Linked DNA regions of Homo sapiens: all the other regions are linked to region 6. The links are contacts of gene promoters, found by promoter capture Hi-C in blood cells and fetal thymus (Javierre and others, 2016). All regions are on one chromosome and are shown on one strand. Each heading gives the region's core, a stretch centred on a gene start or on the middle of the fragment in contact. The rest is flanking DNA. Distances are from core to core; before and after follow the strand shown. Region 1 has its middle 260 kb from the start of USP25. Region 2 overlaps LOC101927745 (a long non-coding RNA gene). Region 3 has its middle 280 kb from the start of USP25. Region 4 has its middle 240 kb from the start of USP25. Region 5 has its middle 210 kb from the start of USP25. Region 6 holds the start of HSPA13 (heat shock protein family A (Hsp70) member 13).

The links. The method cuts DNA at HindIII sites, captures the fragments that hold promoters and counts their contacts. A CHiCAGO score of 5 or more calls a contact.
Region 1: a contact is called between a fragment that was not itself captured here and the fragment with the promoter of HSPA13 in region 6, in 4 of 17 cell types (total CD8 T cells, naive B cells, activated CD4 T cells and 1 more). The highest score is 5.5, in total CD8 T cells.
Region 2: a fragment that was not itself captured here is called in contact with the fragment with the promoter of HSPA13 in region 6 in 1 of 17 cell types (M1 macrophages); the score reaches 6.5 in M1 macrophages.
Region 3: a fragment that was not itself captured here is called in contact with the fragment with the promoter of HSPA13 in region 6 in 1 of 17 cell types (monocytes); the score reaches 5.0 in monocytes.
Region 4: a fragment that was not itself captured here is called in contact with the fragment with the promoter of HSPA13 in region 6 in 8 of 17 cell types (total B cells, activated CD4 T cells, non-activated CD4 T cells and 5 more); the score reaches 7.3 in total B cells.
Region 5: a fragment that was not itself captured here is called in contact with the fragment with the promoter of HSPA13 in region 6 in 9 of 17 cell types (naive CD4 T cells, total CD8 T cells, fetal thymus and 6 more); the score reaches 13.5 in naive CD4 T cells.

What each region holds. Positions count from the first base shown.
Region 1 is chr21:15,470,910-15,474,755 of GRCh38, forward strand. No RefSeq gene overlaps it. Among named protein-coding and RNA genes, the nearest start is that of USP25, 260 kb to the right of the region's middle. The HindIII fragment of the contact is 7,421 bases long and covers 1-3,846 here.
Region 2 is chr21:15,427,996-15,431,691 of GRCh38, forward strand. All of the region lies in intron 2 of LOC101927745 (a long non-coding RNA gene), which reads right to left. Among named protein-coding and RNA genes, the nearest start is that of USP25, 300 kb to the right of the region's middle. The HindIII fragment of the contact is 1,787 bases long and covers 1,168-2,954 here.
Region 3 is chr21:15,445,441-15,449,442 of GRCh38, forward strand. No RefSeq gene overlaps it. Among named protein-coding and RNA genes, the nearest start is that of USP25, 280 kb to the right of the region's middle. RefSeq lists an enhancer at 1-257. The HindIII fragment of the contact is 7,816 bases long and covers 1-4,002 here.
Region 4 is chr21:15,492,944-15,496,604 of GRCh38, forward strand. No RefSeq gene overlaps it. Among named protein-coding and RNA genes, the nearest start is that of USP25, 240 kb to the right of the region's middle. The HindIII fragment of the contact is 1,492 bases long and covers 1,263-2,754 here.
Region 5 is chr21:15,514,441-15,518,433 of GRCh38, forward strand. No RefSeq gene overlaps it. Among named protein-coding and RNA genes, the nearest start is that of USP25, 210 kb to the right of the region's middle. The HindIII fragment of the contact is 352 bases long and covers 2,193-2,544 here.
Region 6 is chr21:14,381,221-14,384,886 of GRCh38, forward strand. HSPA13 (heat shock protein family A (Hsp70) member 13) reads right to left here and starts at 1,926. Exons shown (of 5, transcript NM_006948.5): 1 at 1,875-1,926; 2 at 1-323. The coding sequence starts at 1,899. LOC105369304 (a long non-coding RNA gene) reads left to right here and starts at 1,546. Exons shown (of 2, transcript XR_007067924.1): 1 at 1,546-3,666. RefSeq lists enhancers at 1,633-1,942, 2,333-2,462. The HindIII fragment of the contact is 7,322 bases long and covers 1,023-3,666 here.

The sequences.
Region 1 (3,846 bases), core at 1,305-3,804, 1.1 Mb after region 6:
AAATTTAAATTTAATAGTGAATACGGACAACTTTCAACTTATAAAAGAAAAACATCCCTTGGGCATCAAGCCTAAGATACTCAACTGTAAGAGGCGGTAAGTCTGTAAGCCTAATAAATAACTTTAGGAAAAGTTTTAAAACTTTGTTTTGATTTTTTAAATATCTAGACCAATGTGTTTTTAAAAACTAGAAATAATGGAATAAATTCCTAATATTTGAAAGAAGATGTCAAGAAAGATAGCGAAGCCTTCCTAAATCACAAGCCTCTATGTCACTCCTTAGACATAATCATCTTTTTGTATCCCACATGAAAATCTTCAGCTATGAAGTGACTATACGGTGCTGTTCCTGCCCAAGTCACCACTAAACTGAGAAGGCTGATATGCCACTGGTCAGGAGACAGTTAATGATGTTACACAGGAAACATGGCACCCAAGTTTCTAACCAACAGTGAATCTGCTTGTTAATTACATTCTGAGCAGGGAGTGACTTTTGCTACCAAAGGGGATTTAAAGAACCCTTTCCACACTACTCCAGAGATGTGAATGCTGAGCCTACAGCCATGCAATGAAGTATATGTAGCAATGAGTATCACACAGCCTCACACAGTACTCTAAGAAATGGTTAAGAAAAACAAATCCTCCATAAAAATCAAGTAAAACTATAAATAATTAAAAACTGCCTTTGGAATAAATGCATATGAATACTAAGTCTAATTAGCAATAAGGTCTTTAAACACACACACACACACACACACACACACACACACACACATTCCAAGGCAGACTTTGTAAGGCAAAGAATAATTTTAAAAAATGCTGTTGCTGTTCCCTACAAAAATGCTGATTAAAGATTGCTACCCGCTTCTTACCCCAGAGAAAGTGGAAAGTCAAACCCTGATGCCCATATTTGCCTGTATCATGTCCAAGAAATTATGGTAAATTGTGAATCAGTCACTACTAACAAATCCATTTGTCCTCTTCATAAAGACTGGAGCTGAAGAATCTGCTGTCAGGATTCGATGGACAGATATCTAGAACAACAGACCCAGTGAATATTTGCTGAATGAATGAACCTTGGATTTGGAAAGCCTTCTATACCAGATTCATGTTTCTGATGTTCTGAATGGAGAAAAACAAGTAAAGAGTTATCCTCAAAGTTTTCTCTCGTGATAGGGCTTATTTCTCTTTAGGTGTGCTACATACTATACTATGTTCTTCACATTCAAGATGAAACGGGATAAACGTCCTAACAAACTTTACCTCTCTGGACTTGACCTTTTAGATATATTTTGGTTCTGGTCTTGGCTTTTGGGTAAGTAGCTATACAGAGTTCATCCCTCACAGCCAGTTCAAGCTGGCTGAACATTATGTCCAGTAGAGGGTTCCCTGGGAGACTGATTTGGCTTAGAACCTTTTGACCCATTCTGTTGGCAAACTTAAAGGTTCACACAGGTCCGTCCTGATCCTTTCAACTATTTCAAACCTCCTATGCCCTTGAAGTGTTCTCTCACTTTTTTTTTCTTTTTTTTCCCTGAGTTCTTTTGAGCAGGGATAATTAGCAGGCGTATTAGTTTCCAAGGGCTGTCATAACGAATTACAAACTGGTGGCTCAAGATTACAGAAAATCATTCTTTTATAGTTGTGGAGGCGAGAGTCTGAAATCAGGGTGTCAACAGGACCATGCACTTTTCAAAGACTCTGGGGGAGAATCCTTCCTTGTCTATTTCAGATTCTTGGCTTGTAGTTACATAACTCCAATTTCTGCCTCTGTCTTTGTATGATCTCTCCCCTGTGTTTTCTCCCTTTCTATGTATCAGGACATTTTTCATTGAATTTAGGGCCAATTAGGATAATTCCAGATGATCTCATCTTGAGATCCTTGACTTAATTATCTCTGCAAAGATCCCTTTTCCAAATAAGGTCACATTCCCAGGTACCAGGTGGACATACCTTATGTGGAAACCACCATTCCATTCACTACAGTGAGTGATTCATCTTTAGATTTGAAGAGGTAAATAATTTGTGGTATTACATTTGGTGCTCTAAACATTTATTTTAAATATTCTGCATACCTTAACTTTGTGTCTATTTATTTTAAGTTATTGCTTTAACTTATTATTATTGTCTTCATTGGTAGTTCTTCTAGACCAAAGTTTTTCAGTCACAGCATGACTGACATTTGGGGCTTGATAATTCTTTCTTGTGGGAGGATTTGCTGCTCATTGTATTGTGTTTCACAGCATCCCTCGCCTCTACTCTCTAGGTGCCAGTAGCATTCCACCAGTTGTGTCAATAAAACATGCCTCTAGAAATTCCCAAATGTCCCTGGATCAGGAAATTGTTCTTGGTTGGAAACCACTGGTCCACTTCAAACATTTCTAGATAAGACTATTAGAAATTACACTGAAACACTAAAATTCATCTAAATCATAACTTTGATTTCTTTGGCTAAAACTTGTGCACTGAAAATATTATAAAAATGTTTTATTTTATTTTGGTTCAGAATAATGAGTTAATGGAACATTTTCCCAGGGTATACATAATTTTCAATGGCCCAGTCTCTACTCACGTAGCAAGTGATATGAAGGACCAGGCTTAGTGCATGCTCTCCCATTTACTTATCTGCTATTCAAAAACGGGCAGAAATCTGCTCCTTTCGACCAGAAAGGCAAACTGAATTCCTTCATAACAGGGTTTGACAGAGAAATATATGTGATATCCATTAATGAAGTAAAATTGCAGAAAAACCACTTCTTTATACAAAGAGAAAAAATATCAACCATTCACCTTTATTGCCATTAGGATCAACATGGAACACTCAAACAATGGTTCTGTTATTAATTCAGAAACATCCAACCCACTTATGAGTTAAAGCAAGATATTAGGCACAGATCTATGAGCTATTAATATTGTCTGTTTTAATAAAACATATCAGAGCTTACACTAACAAAAGTTGTTGCTTCAAGGTTGTAGACACCTTAGTAAGCTAGACAATTTAGTAAACTCCAAAACTGTCATTGCCCCATTCTCCAACCATTTTAAATGTTGTAGACCTGAAATAAAGGCCATCCTGAGTCTCAACAAGAACTCATTTTTGTTTAGAATTACATCTAATTTTGGTTAACTGGATTTTTATCTACAAAACTTGTTTCCAACATTCAAATCCACATTTAAAAGTTTAATATGGCCGGGCACAGTGGCTCAAGCCTGTAATCCCAACACTTTGGGAGGCTGAAGTGGGTGGATCACTTGAGGTCAGGAGTTCAAGACCAGCCTAGCCAACAAGGTGAAACCCTCTCTCTATTAAAAATACAAAAATTAGCTGGGCGTGGTGGTGAGCACCTGTAATCCCAGCTACTTGGGAGGCTGAGGCATGAGAATTGCTTGAACCCAGGCGGCAGAGGTTGCAGTGAGTGGAGATCATGCCACTGAACTCTAGCCTGGGCAACAGAGTGAGATTCCATTTCAAAAATAAATAAATTAATTTAAAAAATAAGATGATAATAAAATAAAATAAAAGTTTAATGTTACTACCAACAGAAATATTTTTAAGATTCCCAGTTTTCCAAGACAATTTAAAAAGACAAAGCAAAAATATTTTGAGTAATGATAGCTTCTTTGACATAAATATAAGGTCTCCCAAGGTAACCGCTCTGAGAAGGACAATAAGCATTTGGATTTATAAATGTTGCTACTTTTAAGAAAATAAATTGCATTATTTTACAGATCCAATCTATAGATAACCCATTAGCTAAACATTCTTTGAAAACAGAAATCAGATTTTTTTCCAGTTATAGCTAACAATACTAATTTCAAATAACAATTATAATAATTTATTATGAG
Region 2 (3,696 bases), core at 811-3,310, 1.0 Mb after region 6:
TGTCACCCAGGCTGGAGTGCAATGGCACAATTTCAGCTTACTGCAACCTCCACCTCTCGGGTTCAAGTGATTCATTCTCCTGCCTCAGCCTGCTGAGTAGCTGGGATTACAGGTTCATGCCACCACACCTGGCTAATTTTTTATATTTTTGGTAGAGACGAGATTTCACCATGTTGGACAGGCTGGTCTTGAACTCCTGACCTCAAGTGATCCACCTGCCTCAGCCTCCCAAAATGCTGGGATTACAGGTGTGAGCCACCATGCCTGGCCAATTTTCACATTCTTAATGACTAACAATGTTGAGCATTTTTTAAATGTTCTGGTTGGCCATTTCTATATTTTCTTTGGAGAAATGTTTATTCAAATCCTTTGTCCATTTGAAAATTGAATTATTTGGCATTTTATTATTGAGTTGTAGGAGTTATTATAACAGTTATAACAATCTATATATCAATCTCTTATACACATATTATTTACAAATATTTTCTCCATTCTATGGGTTGTCATTTCACTTTCTTGATAGTATCATTTGCAACACAAAAGCTTTTACTTTCAATGTAGTTCAGTTTATCTTTTGTTGCTTATTCCTATAAAGGCAGGGGGATGCTGGAGATGTTCAATGCTAAATAAAATGTAGTTTATGACCTAAATGCATGTATATGACAAGAGATGCCATCACTGGTATGATAAAACCATAAAGAATATTCTGTGCAGAGTTGATCATTTCTTTTAAGGCCAGTTTTCCCACCTTCTTGGCTTGGCTAACACTATACCTCTTTCAAGTTTCAGATGAGACAGAATTTTTCTAGAAAGCCCTATGTGCTTTCTCTCACCATCTCATAATGTCATCTTGAAGTAGTATCATTACTAACCCAATCTTAACAGATGAGGAAGCTGAGGCTCAAAAATGGCAAAAAATTTTCCCAAATTTATACAAGCAATTTATTGTGGGGTGAATATTTCAAACCAAGTCTATCTTCAAAGCCAGTGAAGATTTTGGTCTTATTTACTATCTTGGTAATGGGTTTATAACCAGGTGATTATTTCTGAAAGGAGATGATAACCCTTTAAACTGTACATCACATATCATTTCAGCTGCAAAAAATTAAAAATGTGATTATTCAAGTTCATAAATTATATTTTACGCATAATCAATTTAACGGTAGAAGCTTTTCAGGAGGCTCATTGGGAAATCATAATGAAAGTGAGACAAGAATTGTCTTTTGGTCTACGTATATTCTGAATGAGTGCCCCAAAGAAGAGAGCTTCACCTTGCAACTCTCACCACTCTTCTCAGAGGGTGTGTGTCAGAGAATTAAGTATACTGAGGTTGCACATTGACACAACACACTTTGAAGAGGATGGTGACTTTTATTATAGATAAGAGGCAAATATTGGGAAATAGAAACATGTCTCTGAAAGTGAAATTCAAAGGCAAAAGAAGATTGTATATTAACTGTACTTATATTTGAAAATATAAAGCATGAAATATATAAAAATATAAAAGATATGTCATAATTTTTAAAGATATGAATATAGCTGTATGAATATCATAAGCAAGAAAAGAAGTTCTATTTGTGAGTCGACCCTCTCAAAATGAGATTGATGATGAATGCCATGTTACTTCAATTGTTAAGTATTCTTCTGCTATGTCATAATGATAAAAATGTCACAACCATTTAATTATTAATTTCTCATACGATGGGTAAGTTAGATTCAGAAAATGAACTCTTGTGCAATATGAACTCATTCTACCTCACCAAGAAGCTATAAGAAAAGGCTTTTTGTAAGCCTCATACATCCTGTGCATAGCATACAGGATCTAATGTAAACTTCACAATAATTCTGCAAGGCAAGAAGGATTGTCCCTCTTTTGCAGATTCAGAAACTGGGGCTCAGAAGGATCTTAGAAGTGGCTCCATGTTCACAGCTGGTTAGCTGGCAAAGAGAGATTCAAGATTTTCAAATTCAAGATTTTCAAATCTTTCAAAAAGAGATTTTAAATAGTGCCCCATTACCCATGCTTTTTCTACTAGGCTGTACCCAGTCTCAAAATTCCTGGCTTCCAGCCGTTCACTTAAGATACTGGTTTAAGCTGCCTGTAGATAAGAAGATAATGTGTTAAGACACTGAACGCTGACATAGAGATTTTAGTCCTCTTCAGTAAGAATCAATTTTTCAAAATCTGGAGCAAACTCAAAAGCTCCATTTTTGGATGATACTAGTATAATCACCAAAATTGAGTCATCCCTTAAACAGTAATAATTTGCACAATAGTAAACTCCCTTTGTTCTGATGGCCAGTATTTCTTAGGGGTAATACTTCACCCTGCATTCATTGAGAGGCCATGTGGCATCTCTGTGACTTTTGACACCAAGATCTGACCTTTCTGTGGGCCATCCAGGGCTTAGCCACTGACATCAACCACTCCTTTTACTATACCATTTCATGTTCTGTGGCTCTTAAACAAGAACAGATAGCATGATGTCCTCTGTTAAAAACCTAAGAAATCAAATTATCCTGTTATTAAACTTGTCCTGACATAAGTTACATGTTTTTGGTGTGATAGATGTGTGTATGGCGACAGAAAGCCAAGCATAGCTTGCAGTTTCCTGAAAGGATCTGCAGAAAAACTGAAATCTGGGAGTCATTTTGAAGTCAAGACTGTGGCCATAAATGTACTATTATTTCACTCAGTGGAACTGAGCACCTTCCTCAGGAGAGTCCTAAACAGAAACGGGAGGACAGGAAGTGAGCCAGATACTATTCTGAGCTTCACACTTCCCAAAGTCCTCCAGGAAGAATCTCAGCCATTACGACATCATTGTCTCTTGGGACCTCCACAATTAGGTACTTTCCTGAGAAAACATCCATGATTCCTTGTTTTCCTGCTTTTTCTGTTTCTTACTATGGTCCTTTGTACATGTGTTTCCCCATTCTTCTGCATTAAATGAAGCTTTTGAAAACAGACAATGAGATGTCTTGTCTTTCTCTACAGCACCTCTTCCCACTTCCCCCTTCCCCCAGTCCCACCTGGGCATCCATTGCTGGTAGGTAGGAGAGAAACTGACCTGCAATATTAAAGGTGAACCAAAGCCCTAGATATCCCAAAAGGGAGCTCTGAAGAGGGAATTACCTGTCAGGTTTCCCCATGTAGCAGGGTCTTCTTTTTCCCTCACACACACCTTTGCTTATCGCTGGATGCAGGTGCCCTGGAGTGGGTGGGACCTCAGGAGAGGTAGGCTGCACTCTGTAGCTGAGGTCAACCTCAAGGGGGCACTGGTTGGAGGCTGTCTGCTGACCACATGCCCTGAAGCTGGGCACCACATCTCTCCCTACAGGAGGATCTGGGTGGGACATCTAGGTGACCAACACACTTCCCATGTTACTCCACAAAAATGTTCTTCCTTACCATACACATATTGATGATGGCTACTAAAATATCACCTTCCAGATATTAATTTTAATGCAAACATTTCTGAGAAGTAACCCTTTAAGCTGGTACCCACTATCAATTTCTTGGTGAAACAGCTTCCTTTCTTTCCCATGAGAAAGTTTTAAAAGGAACAAGAAGGCATTAGGTACAGCAGCCAAAGAGCATGGTGCATTTGGGTGTGTGGGGGCATCAACCAATGCCACTCCTTAGTGTGGGGCCATTACATTAGTGTAATGTGTTTTGTGTTGCTATAAAGGAAT
Region 3 (4,002 bases), core at 1,136-3,635, 1.1 Mb after region 6:
TTGAATTGCTTCTCTGCTGGAGGTATTCCTGGGGCCCACTCTGGCCTACTGCCTTTGGGCTTCACCTGACCTAGCTCTGCATTTACAAAGCAAGCCCAACAGATTTCCACCATACATTTCAAACACCGAGAATGACACTGATTTTGAAACTCAGCTACACTGCATAGAGGAACTCCCTGAATACACCCAATCACCCAATTTAGGGAAGTACGAATTTTCTGACAATGTGAAAGGGAAATGACCTATTTTAAACTAAAGTATTGAAAATTTCTAATTATTCTCATTCCAAGGGAAAAAAATGAAAAAAAAAAAAATCCTAAAGAAAAAGAACAATTCCCTCCTATAACCTATCCCTTAAAGGAATGGACAATACTTGGGTAATGATGTTCAACTTATGCATAAGAAGACAAAAGGGCATTTTTTTCTGTATGGCTTCTTTGCCAGAGACCCTTTGGTAATGTGAGGTTTTTCTAAAGGCATAAGGGACGATTTCTCTATGTAGTTTTGCAAGGTCCCTTTCATTCCTTCTGACATCTTACTTTATCCTTTTCCTTTTTCTCTCCCTAAATGAAATGGATGTCTATGTACATATATATTTTCTGAAATACAAATGTAGAATGGCATGTAAGTACCATAAACCTGAGATTTAATTTAAATGCAATATGTAAGCAAGGCCTGTTAGGTCCTGGGTCCCAGTAAGAAATGGGATTCACCCTTAAAATGGTTTAAGTGAAGATATGTTAACGGTAGCACTCCAAAAAGGCATAGGCAGAGTTTTAGGAGCAAATAAATAATTTACCCAGGGACTAGCAACATTACAACCTCTTGGGCTGAAGGGACAATGAGAAGAAATAATGTTAACAGAACCCAGCGAGAACTGGAAGCACAGAGGAGGGGCCGCCCAGTTGGAGCTGTAGTTTTGGAGAAATGCAGCAGCTGCCCAAGACGTGGTGCTGAAGCCACAGGGCAGCAGAGAAGAAATACCCTGGCTTTACTTCCTTGCAACTCAGTCAGCTCCTGCCAGTACATCCTGTGGCAAAATATCAGCTGTAACCTGTCAGTAAAAAGATTCAGTGGGGTTAGCTTCCTGATACACAGCAGGGAAAACATGGGTTGCCAAGGAATTTGGTATGGAGACTAAGGAATAATTTGCACAAAATTTCCCATTTAAATATGAGAGAATTAGAGTGAATTCAATCATCGGGTTTATAACTAACTTTCAGGAATTTAAAAAATGTGGAAGGATGATGCTATGGATTGAAATATGTCCTCCCTAAATTCATATGTTGAAACTCCAATCCCCAGTATAAAACGCAGCAAGAAGGGGGCCATCAGCAGGCCAGGAAGAGAGCCCTCACAAAAAACGGAATCAGCCAGCACCTTGATCTCGGACTTCCCAGCCTCCAGCATCATGAAAAAATAAAGATTTGTTGTTTAAGTCACCCAGTCTATCATATTTTGTTATGGCAGCCCAAGCAAACCTATGCAGCCGGGTCAAGTATTTTATATATATATTATAGGAGAATACATGCTTTGAGTCATATAGAACAGGATATTAACACCAACTCTAAATTGCTATTTGTAGATTTGGGGAAACACTCCAAACTTCAGTTTTCTAAATTAAATAAGTACAGTATTTTCTTCATTATTGGGCTTTTTTTTTTTTTTTTTTTTTTTGAGATGGATTTTTGCTCTTGTTGCCCAGGCTGGAGTGCAATGGCACAATCTCGGCTCACTGCAACCTCTGCCTCCCGGGTTCAAGCGACTCTCCTGCCTCAGCCTCCCAACTAGCTGGGATTATGGGCATGAACCACCATGCCTTGCTAATTTTGTATTTTTAGTAGAGATGTGGTTTCTCCATGTTAGTCAGGCTGGTCTTGAACTCCCAATCTCAGGTCATCTGCCCGTCTCAGCCTCCTAAAGTGCTGGGATTACAGGGTGAGCCACCCTGCCCAGCATTATTATTGGGCTTTTTAAAAGCATCACATTTCTTCTTGTATATTTTCTTTTTTTAATGAAGTACAGTCTTTACAATAGCCTTTAGTGAAGATTTGCTCCTAAAAACTTAGCTTTTGTTTATCTGATGATGGCTTTATTTCAAGTAGTTTCACCTAGTATATAATTATTTGATAGTCATTTTCTCTTGACTCTTTGAAGACATTTTTCATCATCTTCTGGCTTCCATTGTAGCTGCTTTCATTCCTTTGTAGTTATTTCATATTTGCTTTGTTTTTGGTGAGCTGAAATTTCACTAAGGTGTGTTCAGGTGTGTGTTTTTTTTGTTGCTACCTACTTATATTTCACTGAGGTCTTCTGATGTAATCTAGTCTGCCACCAATATTGGGAAGCCTTTAGCCATTTTTTTTCCTATACTGACTTTTCTCCATTCTCTATATTCTCTTGTGAAATTCTAAGCAATAAGCCAGACCTTCTAACTTTACTGTAATGTCCCTTAACCTCTATTTCATGTTTTCCAAATATTTACCCATGTTATATTGAGTCATTTCTTCTGCTGTATTTTCCAGTTGTAAATTCTCTCCTCAGCTGTATCTGATACTCTACCATTGAGTTTTTAATCTCAATAATTATATTTTTTACTACTGTAAGTTCTGTTTTTAAAATTTTTTAGCAATTCTGCATGATCAGTCTCCACAGTCTTATGCCTTCCTCACACATTTGATGCCTTTCTTTTTTTCTTTTAAAATTTAAAAATTTTAGTAGAGACTTAAAAATTTTTAAATTTTAAAAGAAAAAAAGTAGAGATTTAAAAATTTAGTACAGATTTTAAAATTTTTAAATTTTAAAAGAAAAAACAGTATTCTTACTTTTTATATTCTAAATGCAGTAATTTCCATATCTGAGATCTTAATGCATCTGATTCTTTTCTTTGTATTCTTTGTTGTTTATCCTCTTTCTTGGTCTCAATATGTTATTTTCCATTGTGTTTTGTTATTTTTGTTGTTGTTGTGAGTTTAGGCTTGATGAAACTTTTTCTGTGAGGCTATTCTGAGTCTTAGATTGAGAGTGTATTCCTCCAAAAATATGTGTATTTTCTTATGGCATTCATCAACTAGCACTACCAGTCAGGGGGTGATATGAATTTGGAGCACAATCCCACATTAGGCCCCGTTTATACTGATACATTTCCAGTGGGTGTATTTTTTTGTTTTTAAAAATGAGGTAAAATTTACATAACATAAAACTAGCCATTTTAAACTGTACATTCAGTAGCATTTATTACCTTCACAATGTTGTGGAACCATCACCTCTATCTAGTTTAAAAATATTTTCATCACCCCAAAAGGAAATCCCAAACCCACTGATATGGTTTGGCTGTGTCCCCACCCAAATCTCATCTTGAATTGTCATTCCCATAATCCCCATGTGTCATGGAAGCCACCTGGTGGAAGGTAAATTAATCAGGGGAGAAGTTACCCTCATGCTGTTCTTGTCATAGTGAGTGAGTTCTGAGAAGATCTGATGGTTTTATAAGGGGCTTTCCCCACTTTTGCTTGGTACTTCTCCTTGCTGCTACCATGTGAAGAAGGACATGTTTGCTTCCCCTTCTGCCATGATTGTAAGTTTCCTGAGGCCTAGCCAACTGTAAAGAACTGAGCCAATTAAACATCTTTCCTTTATAAATAACCCAGTCTTGGGTATGTCTTTATTAGCAGCTTGAGAATGGACTAATACACACACTAAACAGTTACTTCCCATTACCCAACTACCTATACCCTGGCAAACACAGATGTGCTCTTTCTCTCTTTATAGACATACCTGTTCTATATATGTTATACAAATGGAATCACATAAAATGTGATGTCTGATTTCTAGCTTCTCTTATTTAATATACTTCCCAGGTTCATCCATGTTGTAGCATTATCAGTATTTTATTCCCTTGCATGGCTAAATTCCACTGTACACACATATTACATTTTGCTTGGCCATTCCATTGATTGACATTTGGGTTTTTTATATCTTTTCACTACTGTGAATAGTGAT
Region 4 (3,661 bases), core at 759-3,258, 1.1 Mb after region 6:
GAATTTTTAATTATAAGTATAAATGTGTTTTAAAATGTTAAGAAGGATTTCAAATATATCTAAATGTTTAATGGCAGTTTAGCCCCTATCTTCTAATGTTTATTTTCATTCCATATATTCTATCAATAATTGATTCTTTCTCATTTTCCATTAGCTTTTATTAGCAAAGAGCAACCTTATAAGCACAATATAGCACATCTACATTTAGTGCTTCTTGTCCCCAAAATGGCAATTCCATTCGCCTCAGCACTCATATGTCCATACTAAGTTGCTAATCTTTTTCAAAGCTGCTCCAGACAGCTTCAAGGCAAATATACTTAGTGTATTACTTTGTATTCTTTGAACAGACAGCAACATAGTTTTTGACAGCTTATTTTCAACAGATAAGCATGAAGACATTGTAAAACAGTCTAAAGGCATTTAGACTGGTGTTAATGATTTGTTTTGATTCTTTATTGTCTACAGTGTCTGATGTTTCTGCACCAGCTTCTGCTGCTAAAGATAAGATGACATTTGATAGTTCGGTTCATCCTATGAAAAGTTTAATTTAATTACAAAAGGGTCTGATTTGCTAGATTAAAAGGTCAAGTATTATAAAATTCATTTTTGGTGCAGAGATTTGAGAAAGCTGCACAGTGCAAAGTTCAAACAGTCAGAGAAGAGTAAGACACTTTAGAAAATGAGGAAAAATTAAAACTATTGGCTAATTTCATTGGAGAAGGAGAGACTAGAGACACATTCTTGTATATACAGCAGTTGAACATACCACTTAAAATAATTTGTTGTCAGTATTTTTTTTTTTAGCCTTTTGAAAGTTTTGCATCAGGGTGATTTGCCAAAAAAGGGGTGGGGGCAAAATTTAGGGAACTACGCTAAAATTGTCTTTGTTTGAAAATAGCACGAGACTCTACAGAAGTATTAAGATAAGAATGCTCCTAGACAGCACAGGCAAGGACTTCACCGCCTCTTCCCCTGCTCACCATTTTACCTCAACCACACAAGCTCTGCTGACTTTTATTGGGGATTAAATGTCTCCAGACTTAAAAAAGAAAAAAAAATGCAATGAAATCCAGATAGCTGTGCTTGCTCTCAGCCCACTGAAGATGAGAGACAATATAAGCGAACGTTTTAGGGCGACTTCATTTAAGAACATGAAGTGCCTGAGTAATAAGACGGACTGTGCCCATGGTACCAGGGTCAACTTGACCAGCTGACTAAAACAGCCTGCAACAGCTAAGTGACTACCTTAAGCCAAAGAATAAAGCTTTACAGAGGTACAGCTGGTTAGAAGTGAGTGTTAATAACTGAGTGCATAAAAGAGAGAGGGAAACAGCACAAGTGAGGGAAGCTGATGGACTCACAATTTGACTTCATCCCATAGATCAAACGTTGATCAAACGATAAAAGTGGATCAAAAATGACTCAACGATTCCTGGCTAGAGCTGATGAAAAAGGGGCTGCTTCATTGGACAATATGGCATGAGGAATGTGAGGAGCAGCTGGTATTTCAGTTCCATTAAAAACCCCTCCAGCTTACCGTGGGTATTCAACTTGTGCCGGCGTCGATACTTCCACAGGGGAGTTTTCTCCAGGTGGTGCGACAGCACAGGCAGGTTGCGCCGGTGGAACTTGATATTCCCTCACTCATGCCACCCCTACTTTTAAAAGAATCTAATTACAAAATGACTGGAGGAAGGGAATGTGTAAATGTCATATACCCGGACCTTCCGTAATACCAATGCCTTGTGAAATCCAAACTGAAAAAGTCGTACAAATGGATTTGGACAGAAATGCTGTTGCATGGATTGAAAACAGGCTCAAAGACTGTAAACAAGGATAATGACAAATGCCAGTGCAATCAAGGGCCAGTGGATGAGTTTTCCACCAGAAGACAGTGTCCAGAGATGCCCCATGAGTCAGGATTCGAGTTCATTTTTGGTCACTAGGTGTATTACCTACAAAGGAGTGAAGAGTATATGGACAAAATCACAGCCGACTCTCAGTGTGAAGGAGGGTAAAATTAATAAAAGGAAAATTACATTGAGTCAAAAGAATGCTAGAAATATAGAAGTGGAAAATCGCCTAAATAGTTACTGATATGAAAATAACTTGAGAGAGATTCTTCCCAAATTTCAAAGATTTGGAACACACCTGTAGATCAATGTAAACAATCCAGTTTGCCTGCCATTTTATCATCTTTCAAGTTTTTGATTTATGCTCCAATATTTATTTGAACAAAATAATGATATAACTTATGGCAGTGAATATTCTTAAATTTGAAAATCTCTATAAAAATGATATTTATTCATCCCCAACCCTCCCACTTTTGGGACCCAGATTTTTGGATGCAGGTTAATTTGCATGCTGATTTGCCAGCTGAAAATCTCAAAGAGAAAAACTTGGAAGCACTTGTAGTCAGTCAACTAAAGTAAAATGTAAGCAGAAAAGCTATAATGAAAATACAATTCATAATATTTGCACATGGAACTTATAATGACTGGTTAACTTTTAATGTGAAGAATAAAAATTTCCTGTCATGATGAAATGAATCAATTAATTACTTATTAATTGTACTTCTATTATGTGGTGAGCACTTTACTAAAAAGTCGTTTTTTTGTTGTTTTTTTTTTTTTGAGAAAGGGGTTGTACCAAAGTAAAATTAGAAAAATAAAAACAAGGAAAGCACATTTCTTTGTCTCAATAAATCATGCTCACAAGTAGATTCTTAGAATTTCAGAGCTAAAAAGGACCTAAAGCTTCATTGATTCTGACCTTTTTTATTTTGGATGAGAACTGGACTCCACAGGGAAGTGAGGATCCCTGGCTCGCGATGATGTGGCCTGCCAGAGTCCTTATGGGAATGTCTCTCTAGATGCCTCCTCATAGCTGTGTATCCATGAGACTCAGTGGAACTTTCACTTCCCATTGGCTTCCATCGGGCCTGTGATCCCACTTCACCTCTGTCCTTCCAGTCATGCTGGGCCTAGCCCAACAGAGCCACAGACTACTTTGCCCAGGCATTTATTCTGGAAGCCTGACCAAGCCTGCTGACTGGGCTGGGCTGTAGACTGTAGCGTTCATCAGTGATTTTCTTTGGCCAGAGTGAGCACCACTCTAAGCAGAGTCTTTCAGAACTTTGGAGCCACTTAATCCTACAGAACTTTTCATTCCTGCCATCATTGGCCTCCACCCAAAATGCACACTGCCATCGTCATCTGGTCTCTTACATCCTCATCCTCATGCTACTCAGTTTCCTCTCCTATGACTCATCCTTCCATTCCTACTCAATTTCCCGGCCAACCTCCTGGCTTTTGCTCTCATTGTTCCATCTGCCTGCCCTGACTACATGCTCCACCTGGTGAAAACCCACTGTCCTTTCAAGACTCATCACAATCACCTCTGCAAAGAAGAACCATCACCTGCCTCCCCCTAGCTGCAGCACCTCATAGAACTGACAATCCCCTCTATTTTTGCATTCCATATAGGGTGTAAAAATGGAGACGATTGCCAATTTGTGAGAGGTAGCAGCTATGATATAAATGGTTAAAGAATTTCTTTGCATGTCTGCTGCCACTAGAATCAAATCCCTCTAAGGGCCTAGATAGTTCTGTAACCACAGCTGTATCCTCAGTGCCTAGAACAGTATCTTCCAGCACACAGT
Region 5 (3,993 bases), core at 1,119-3,618, 1.1 Mb after region 6:
CATGTATTTCCTGTTCTTCATGCTATTGCTCCTGTGGTTATCACCACTTCAAACATGCTATGGCCTTCCTTTGCATTTATGACATTGTATTGTAATTATCTGTTTGTGTGAATATTTTCCTCCCTGGACTGCAATGGACTTTATTTACATTAGCAGGATCAGGGTCCACTCTTCTGTCAACACGTAAGGCTGCTCAACACGTATTGATCAACACTGGGAAAGACAGCGTCCTCCACCTAACTCTCTGAGATCTTATGAAAGGCATTTTAGCTGCTATTTCCCTATTTCATAAATGTAAACAGCACAATATACCAAAATAATTCATCTCTTGTGAGATTATCCACTAGTTAATGTTTCCATTCTATCTAGAACCCAAATGTGCTAGTATCCATATCATCACCGTTGACTTCCTCACATTTTTATTATGGAATTTGTCCAACCTACTCAAAAGTAGAGACAATAAGTAATGAGCCCCATGTGCCAATATCTTGACAGTTTCATTTCATGTATTCCCCAAACACCGATGTTTAAAGCAAGTCTCAATCACTGGAACGTTTTACCTGTAAACACTTAATTATACTTCTCTATCACAATAAGGATTTTTTAAACATAATGACCGTGACAGTGATTGATAGTCTATCTATGACATTATAATCTGTTTTAACATTTTAAATAATTATATTAGGAAGTCTAAATTCCAAAATCATTTTCAATCTGTTTAAATAATTGGGGCATCACTATACTTTTTGGACGTTTCTCTTCAGTAACTGGAAAGGGTTCGGCAAAGATTAACAATCTGCATTTTTGCAGATGGACAAGTACTGTGTGTTCAGGTCAGGCCTGAAGAGTATTAAAAGAACTCTGAGGAGGATGTTTCAAATATCCTGGCTATGCCACTCAAACTAATGCTATTAATCGGCTCCTACCTCTCCCTCAACTCTCATAGACACTAAATTCCTATCTATAACTTTTCAGCAAATATTATTCTCTTTACTTGAGTTATCAAAGATAGCCCCAGAGCAATGAAACTATTCAGTTCCAAAACCATCACATTTACTACGATTGTCACAACAATAATCCTTTCCTAAACGTATACATTGTTTTAAATGTCTCAGGACACTCAGAGTCAATGTTAGTTTAATTTAGTTACTTTAAAAAACGAAAGTTGAAGTCAATAAATCTCACCATGGGCAACCTGTTTCCTAGCTTGGGCTGCAGACACAACAATTTATCTCTTGGAGTTACCCGTAACTCTCTGGAGCTATATTTGTGACTGTCCTAGGAATATTAGCTAAAGCCCAACAAAGAGGTGAAAGTTCTGTTGCAGTCAAAGTGATACTTGTCCTTACAGAGAGTTAAAATAATATATCATAATAATAGAAATATAAAAAATATAGTAGGCATGTATATTTATATATGTGAAAGACTGAATACATATGAGTAGAAAATTAATGCCAATAATACTCAATGTACATTACTCCTCCTATCATAACAATATGTATAACTGCCTAATAAATACTTCATATGACATAAAAAAAGAAAAAGAAAATTAATGCCAATAATCCAACTAAATCCATCAATCATTGAAAAAATTGTACATTTTTCTATTGTTTCAAATCTGCTGATTTTTCTGGTTATGTATGTACTCTTTAGAGAATGTTAAAAAAATGTGTTAATGCTGACAATTAACTTTTAGGAAAAATAAAACCAGAAACAAAAAATCCTGTTGTAATATCCTAGTAACGCCTAAAGAAAATATCAACAATTACTTTGTTTTGCTTTGTTTTGTTTTATTTTTCTTTTAAGCTGAATAAACCATACGAGCCTATTGCTTGGTTTGTCACCAGTAGATGCTGATCATATTACATAGTTTGGCAATGGTTTTTAATACAGATACAAACATACATATAATTTGGCATGAGTAAAGGAGAAGCAGTAATTACATAATTTAAACTGCTTACACTTAAGTAAGTATAGATGAAACATTAATGAACCATGCCATGGAAATACTTTTGACTGCTTAAACATTATTTTCAAATTTGCTTTTGAAAAACTAACTTTGAAATATTTAATCTGCTGAGAGCTAAGCCATCAGTTTTTGTGAGTTTATATACAATAGGAAGGACAAAGTATGACAGAATGATCTCCAGGTTAAGGGAAATCTTACATAATTTTTACTACTACTGATGCTAAGCTTTCTCTTTGGGTAGTTTCCCAATGGCATTTTAATTTACTTTATTTGACTTCACAATGCTTAGGAGTTGGGCAAAGTCCATTATTACCCATTATTCTCTGAAGTTCAGAAAAATTGCAAAATGCATAACTTCTGGTATGCTGGAAATTTATACACCTTCATCAAGGTGTTGGTTACATTAGTGTAAACTACGTAAATTTCCATCAAGCTATACAATTACAATTAATGTAAGCTATACTTTAATAAAAATATTAAAAAGAAATACACTCAGTGACAAACTGAGTAAACTAGAGAGGCTTTCATATACTGTGTAACAATATTTAAATCCTATTAAGGAGATAGCCTCTAGAAGCTTCTTCCTGAAATAATATGACTATTTAGTTAGACAGAAAAACAAATGAACTTCCACTAAAGTGGTAGGAAATTTTACTGACCGCACCTTGCTAAACAAAATGCAAGATAATTTTCTTTTCTAGTAGTCAATGTCCACAGCCCTCATAGAATAAGATAATGCAAAAGATGATTTTATTGACTATTCACTGCAATACCTAATTACATAAGTAGCTGCTCATTTAGAAAAATAATCCAACTAGTCATTCCCTTTTTTTCTGTGGGATTCGGCTGTTCTAATTCTTGGCCCAATGGACCAAGAAGGTGGTCATGAATCAACAAATTATTTTGCCTGCTTAAATTGCATGAATTTACAAATTGGTTATTCAGAATTAATGTGAAAAAATTTGGAGAGTGTGTTGGGTCAGTGTATAATGAGACATCTGTAGCTTTATGGTAGTGGGGGCAGAGTGGAGTGGGCTGATGGGCCTTTCTGTAGCCTTATGAGGCAGAAGTTACAGAGCATTCAAATACTTTCTCTAGTGAAAATGTATGGTGCCCAAGTTTAATATGTCCTACTGCTCTATTTTGGTAAACACTGCATGAGTCACTAAACCATAGAGAAAGATTTCAGAGAGGTTACATGGGTAGTGGCTATAGCTGACATAGGTTATCATGTCAAAGGATATTTCAGCCACAGCTAACATATAGAAGAGTCACACAAAAACATGCCTCTATAAATGAATATTTGCAGATCTGGTAGGGCTTGGGCACTGGAACTAACATATTCTAAACTGGGATAGCAATACTCTAACAGTAAGATGAAAAAAGTACAAACCTTTATCAAATTGTGTATCTTTTTGTATAGCTTCACTTAAAGAATATTAGTTATATACTCAGGATGTTCCAAGAGAATGAATTGAGAAGGAGCTATCTTGGAAATTTAAGAATAACGTTAATCCAAGTGACTTCTAGACCTATAAATAGTAAAAAATGCATCTCAACATAATATGCATCTGGAATTACCTATTGACTCTTCATTGATATTTCTGTGGGGTGGGGGGAGGGGGGAGGGATAGCATTAGGAGATATACCTAATGTAAACGACGAGTTAATGGGTGCAGCACACCAACATGGCACTTGTATACATATGTAACAAACCTGCACGTTGTGCACATGTACCCTAGAACTTAAAGTATAATAAAATATATATATATATATATATATATATATATAAAGAAACTTGGTTCCTCAGGCAGCAGAGATCAATGGAGACTTTCAGCACGGAAGTGGCCTATCAGGTCTGTCTTTTCAGAAGAACACTGTAATAGAACAGTGCACGCTGCTCACTTCCTTCATTGTAAACCCAAACCATGGTTCTTTAAGTTCAAGTGCAATAACTTTGGAATAACAAGGTATCAGTCATCTCAATTACCACCCATAGTACTATAAATGAGTGCCATCTTTCT
Region 6 (3,666 bases), core at 676-3,175:
AATTTCAGCCTCCAACTCTTCTGCGGTAAAAATCTTGCCTATGAATCTTTTGGCATCATATATTGTGTTTTGAGGATTTGAATCTGCCAGCTCTACGCTTTCATATCCCACATATACATCATTGTCAGTAAAAGACACCATGCTGGGTATGCTGATATGCCCATTTTCATCTGGAATCACCTTTACTTTTCCTGTGCCAGGAAAAAACACCCCAACAGAACAATAGGTGGTGCCAAGATCAATACCAATCACTTTAGGAGTAGGCAATGGTAAATACTGTTGTGCCAAATAGCCGGCCAACAGGAGAGTCAAAACAGCCGATCCTGAAATAAAGGAAAATTAAAAGATGTATTTTATCAAACTAGTACAATGTACTAAATTACTGTAGCAAAGTCCCTTTAATATCACTCGTTGAAACAAGGCTAAAAAAGACAAATTTCAAAATTTTTTATAGGACTGCTGATAGCACTCCTCTCAGACAGCAAGTTTTTCAAAATGTAAACTGGTTATAATAAAATTTAAAATGAAGTAAACACAAACAACAAAAAACCCTATAACTGTATGTTTGTGTCATTCTCTAATAAATGTAATAAAATGTAAAAATATTTCAATAATATTTGTGCAGATGCTGACAAGAAACAACATTTATCTGGAGCAAAAGCCAGATATAATCTAATATTCTTGATCAATTGATATTTAGATTTTACAGCTTTATAAAAAGCTTCGATTATCTTTTTTTAAAAGCTCCATTATTAAAATTCTCACAAGAAAAACTTTATTATTTTATAAGTCTAAAATTCTCTCCTCGTATCTCACCTCCTTTTCCCTTTCAAAAGGATGAAATGAATAAATGGGATAAAATGATTTTGAAAGTTCCTTAGATATGAAACTGTCACTTCAAAACAGAACACAGTTAACTTTTTATGTATTTAAGTATGAACTAGGGACTTCCTTCTTGCAGTGGTAATATTTAGGGGAGAAGAAGCATAAAGGTGGGCAACCCTGACGGCAACATCTATGAAAGCTTCTTGAAGACAAGTTTCGTTCACTGTTGTATCCCCCAGACCAGGAATAGCAGATGCCCAACAAATACTAATTTAAAAAAAAAAGAAAAAAGAGTAGGAACAAATGCCACGCAGATTGTAAACATAAGCGAAGAAAGATGCCCCTTTAGTTTTTAATGAATCTCGTATTTGGTATCAGGAGGCTGTGTTATACACCTGTGTCCGCTCATATTACATATGACCCAAAACATGAATTTTCAGGGCTCTGTGTTACTAATTGTTAGCTCATCCTCATCAACACATAACTCAAAGAAATAAAACCAAGTGCGAATCCCACTTTCCACTTCCAGCTACAGGCAACATTTCAGAAGCATTTCATCACCTTGGAGACGCGGGGTGGGTGTGTGTGTGGGTGGGGGATAGGTAATTCCAAACCCGATGTGATGGAAAAAGCCTCCAAATTCAGCATCCCTGAGCCGACAGATCCGGATGTAGCTCCTCCCCCTTCCTCCACAAAGGGGTCCTGGAGGTGCACGTTCTCGCAGCCTTCCATAGCTTGCCCCAATTCAACAGGCAATTCAAAAACCTAGGTGCTGTTGAAAGGAACGCCTCCCTAAGCCTGATGTCCCTGGGATGGACACAGCTGGTCGCCGTCTATCCTACCTTGGCCTGCAGGGGCCGGGGCCCTCCTAGAGGCGTCCCCGCCCCCATCCACTCCGAACAGCCGAAAACCGTCTCTAAGTCACCTTTCTGACTCCCCTTCCGCTGCTCCAGCTAGATCCAGGAGGTGAGTCAACCACCCCTGCCCACTCTGGCATCCTCAGATCGCCTCTACGCCCGCAAGAGCAACAAGGACCCCCGGGAACCCACCTAAGATCGTCATCTCTCTGGCCATCACAGTCCCGCCGAACAGGCTTGTGATGACTGTACCAGACGTGAGGCACCGCCCCCACTCCTCCCGGCAGTCCCGCAGCCCCCTGGGAAATGTAGTCCGCTTGCTCTGAGGCAATCGGAGAAGCTATCGCTCTGACCAAAGCAAGGACTTCATCTACCGTGAGGGCGCGGGGCAAAGAGCCTCCATTCAACCGCTGCCAGTGACGACTGAGTCCCCCTTCCACGCAACGGCCGGCAGGACCAGTGAGACTGAGGGGGAGGAGCGCCGTGGCGAGAGACTGGCGTTTATAATCAAACCTGTGGTCCCGCGATCCTACTTGAGGGAAAACAGGCTATCTCTTTAGCCCCGCCCCGCGCTTTGCATTCTGGGAAGCGGAGTTCCAGCCTTTCTCTTTCCGCGGGAGGGAATGAAAGGGAGGGTGAGAACCGTTAGTTATTTCTTTCTTTGGTCGTGCCCCTAATCAGGTCCAGGATTCGAGTTTGTGTTCTTTCGTTTTAATTCCTTTTAAAGCGCGTTCGTTTGCCTGAGATCTAGCTTCTAGATGGCGTTCCTATAGCCTCCCGGAGCCCCAGCCATCCTCCGTAGAAGGGTCCCTGCCGCAGTGCGGGGCCTGAGGGAAGTCGGCTCTGGCGTCCGTGCTCCAACGCTGGGAGCAGCCCTGAAACTCCAGTGACCCTCAGCCGTCTGCCTTTGTTTTGGGATAAATGAATTCAAGCATTCTTCAGTCAATTCGATTTATCCAAGGGATCAGGGACACATTTTCTCTATTGCTAGCACTGACGTGGGCCATTAAAAACAAAAACAAAAACGAAATTAAAAAGAAAACCCTTAGCTCTCTCTTCAAGTAAGTCTTAAGTGGCCAAAATTGACCTTATGGGCAAGTCCTGTAACGTGACAGCCATTTTAGGACGCTTGTGACATGCTGTTCAGGTTCTAGTCTGAAGTAGGATTTTTCTCGCATCTTGGTCACTGGTAGCACTTAATGACTCCTCTGAGAGTGGTTTTGTCATTTTTGCTGTTAGAGTTCACGATAACTAAGATCCTGGAGAATTGAATCCATTTTCTCAGCTTAGATATAAATCAAACCATCCCTGTTGACAACACGTCAGCCTGCTGTGGGAATACATTGCTGGTTATTTCTGACTTATCAATGTGAATTTTGATTATGGAAGCTGAATTCTGGTTGATAGGGATCCATTGTAATGTTCTCTCTACTTTTGCGCATTTTTAAGTATTTCATAATGCGAAATATAAAAAGTGTGTGTCTATAGTGAGTGCTGTTCAATAAGATTCTTATAAGGAGTGAAGAATTCAAGCACTTAGTTCTTAAGTATTACTTGTAATGGGCAGTGGGCTGGAGGTGTTCCAGGCAGACGGAACTCAATTACCAAGAGCACAGAAGCAAGAGATCATCTATTCCATAGATTAGAAAGTGGTGGATCATAAAGCATGAGGTAGAATTCTGAGAGACAGAACTAGAGACTTAAACCAGATTAAGATTAGCCGTCTGTGACAAGCACTGGTCATTGGGATTCTCCCTGCCACTCACTCCTTTCTCCTTGCTAACAAGATCCTGATTTGTTCAAGAAGCAGGTAAAGATTATGTGATCTCAGAGTAGAAGGCCTTTAGAATTAAGATTGAACTAAATAGGTTGTATTCATTTTCTATTTCTGCCTTAACAAATTACCACAAATTTAGTGTCTTAAACCAACTCAAATCTATTATTTTTACAGTTCGGTATATCAGAAATTTGGTATGGGTCTCAC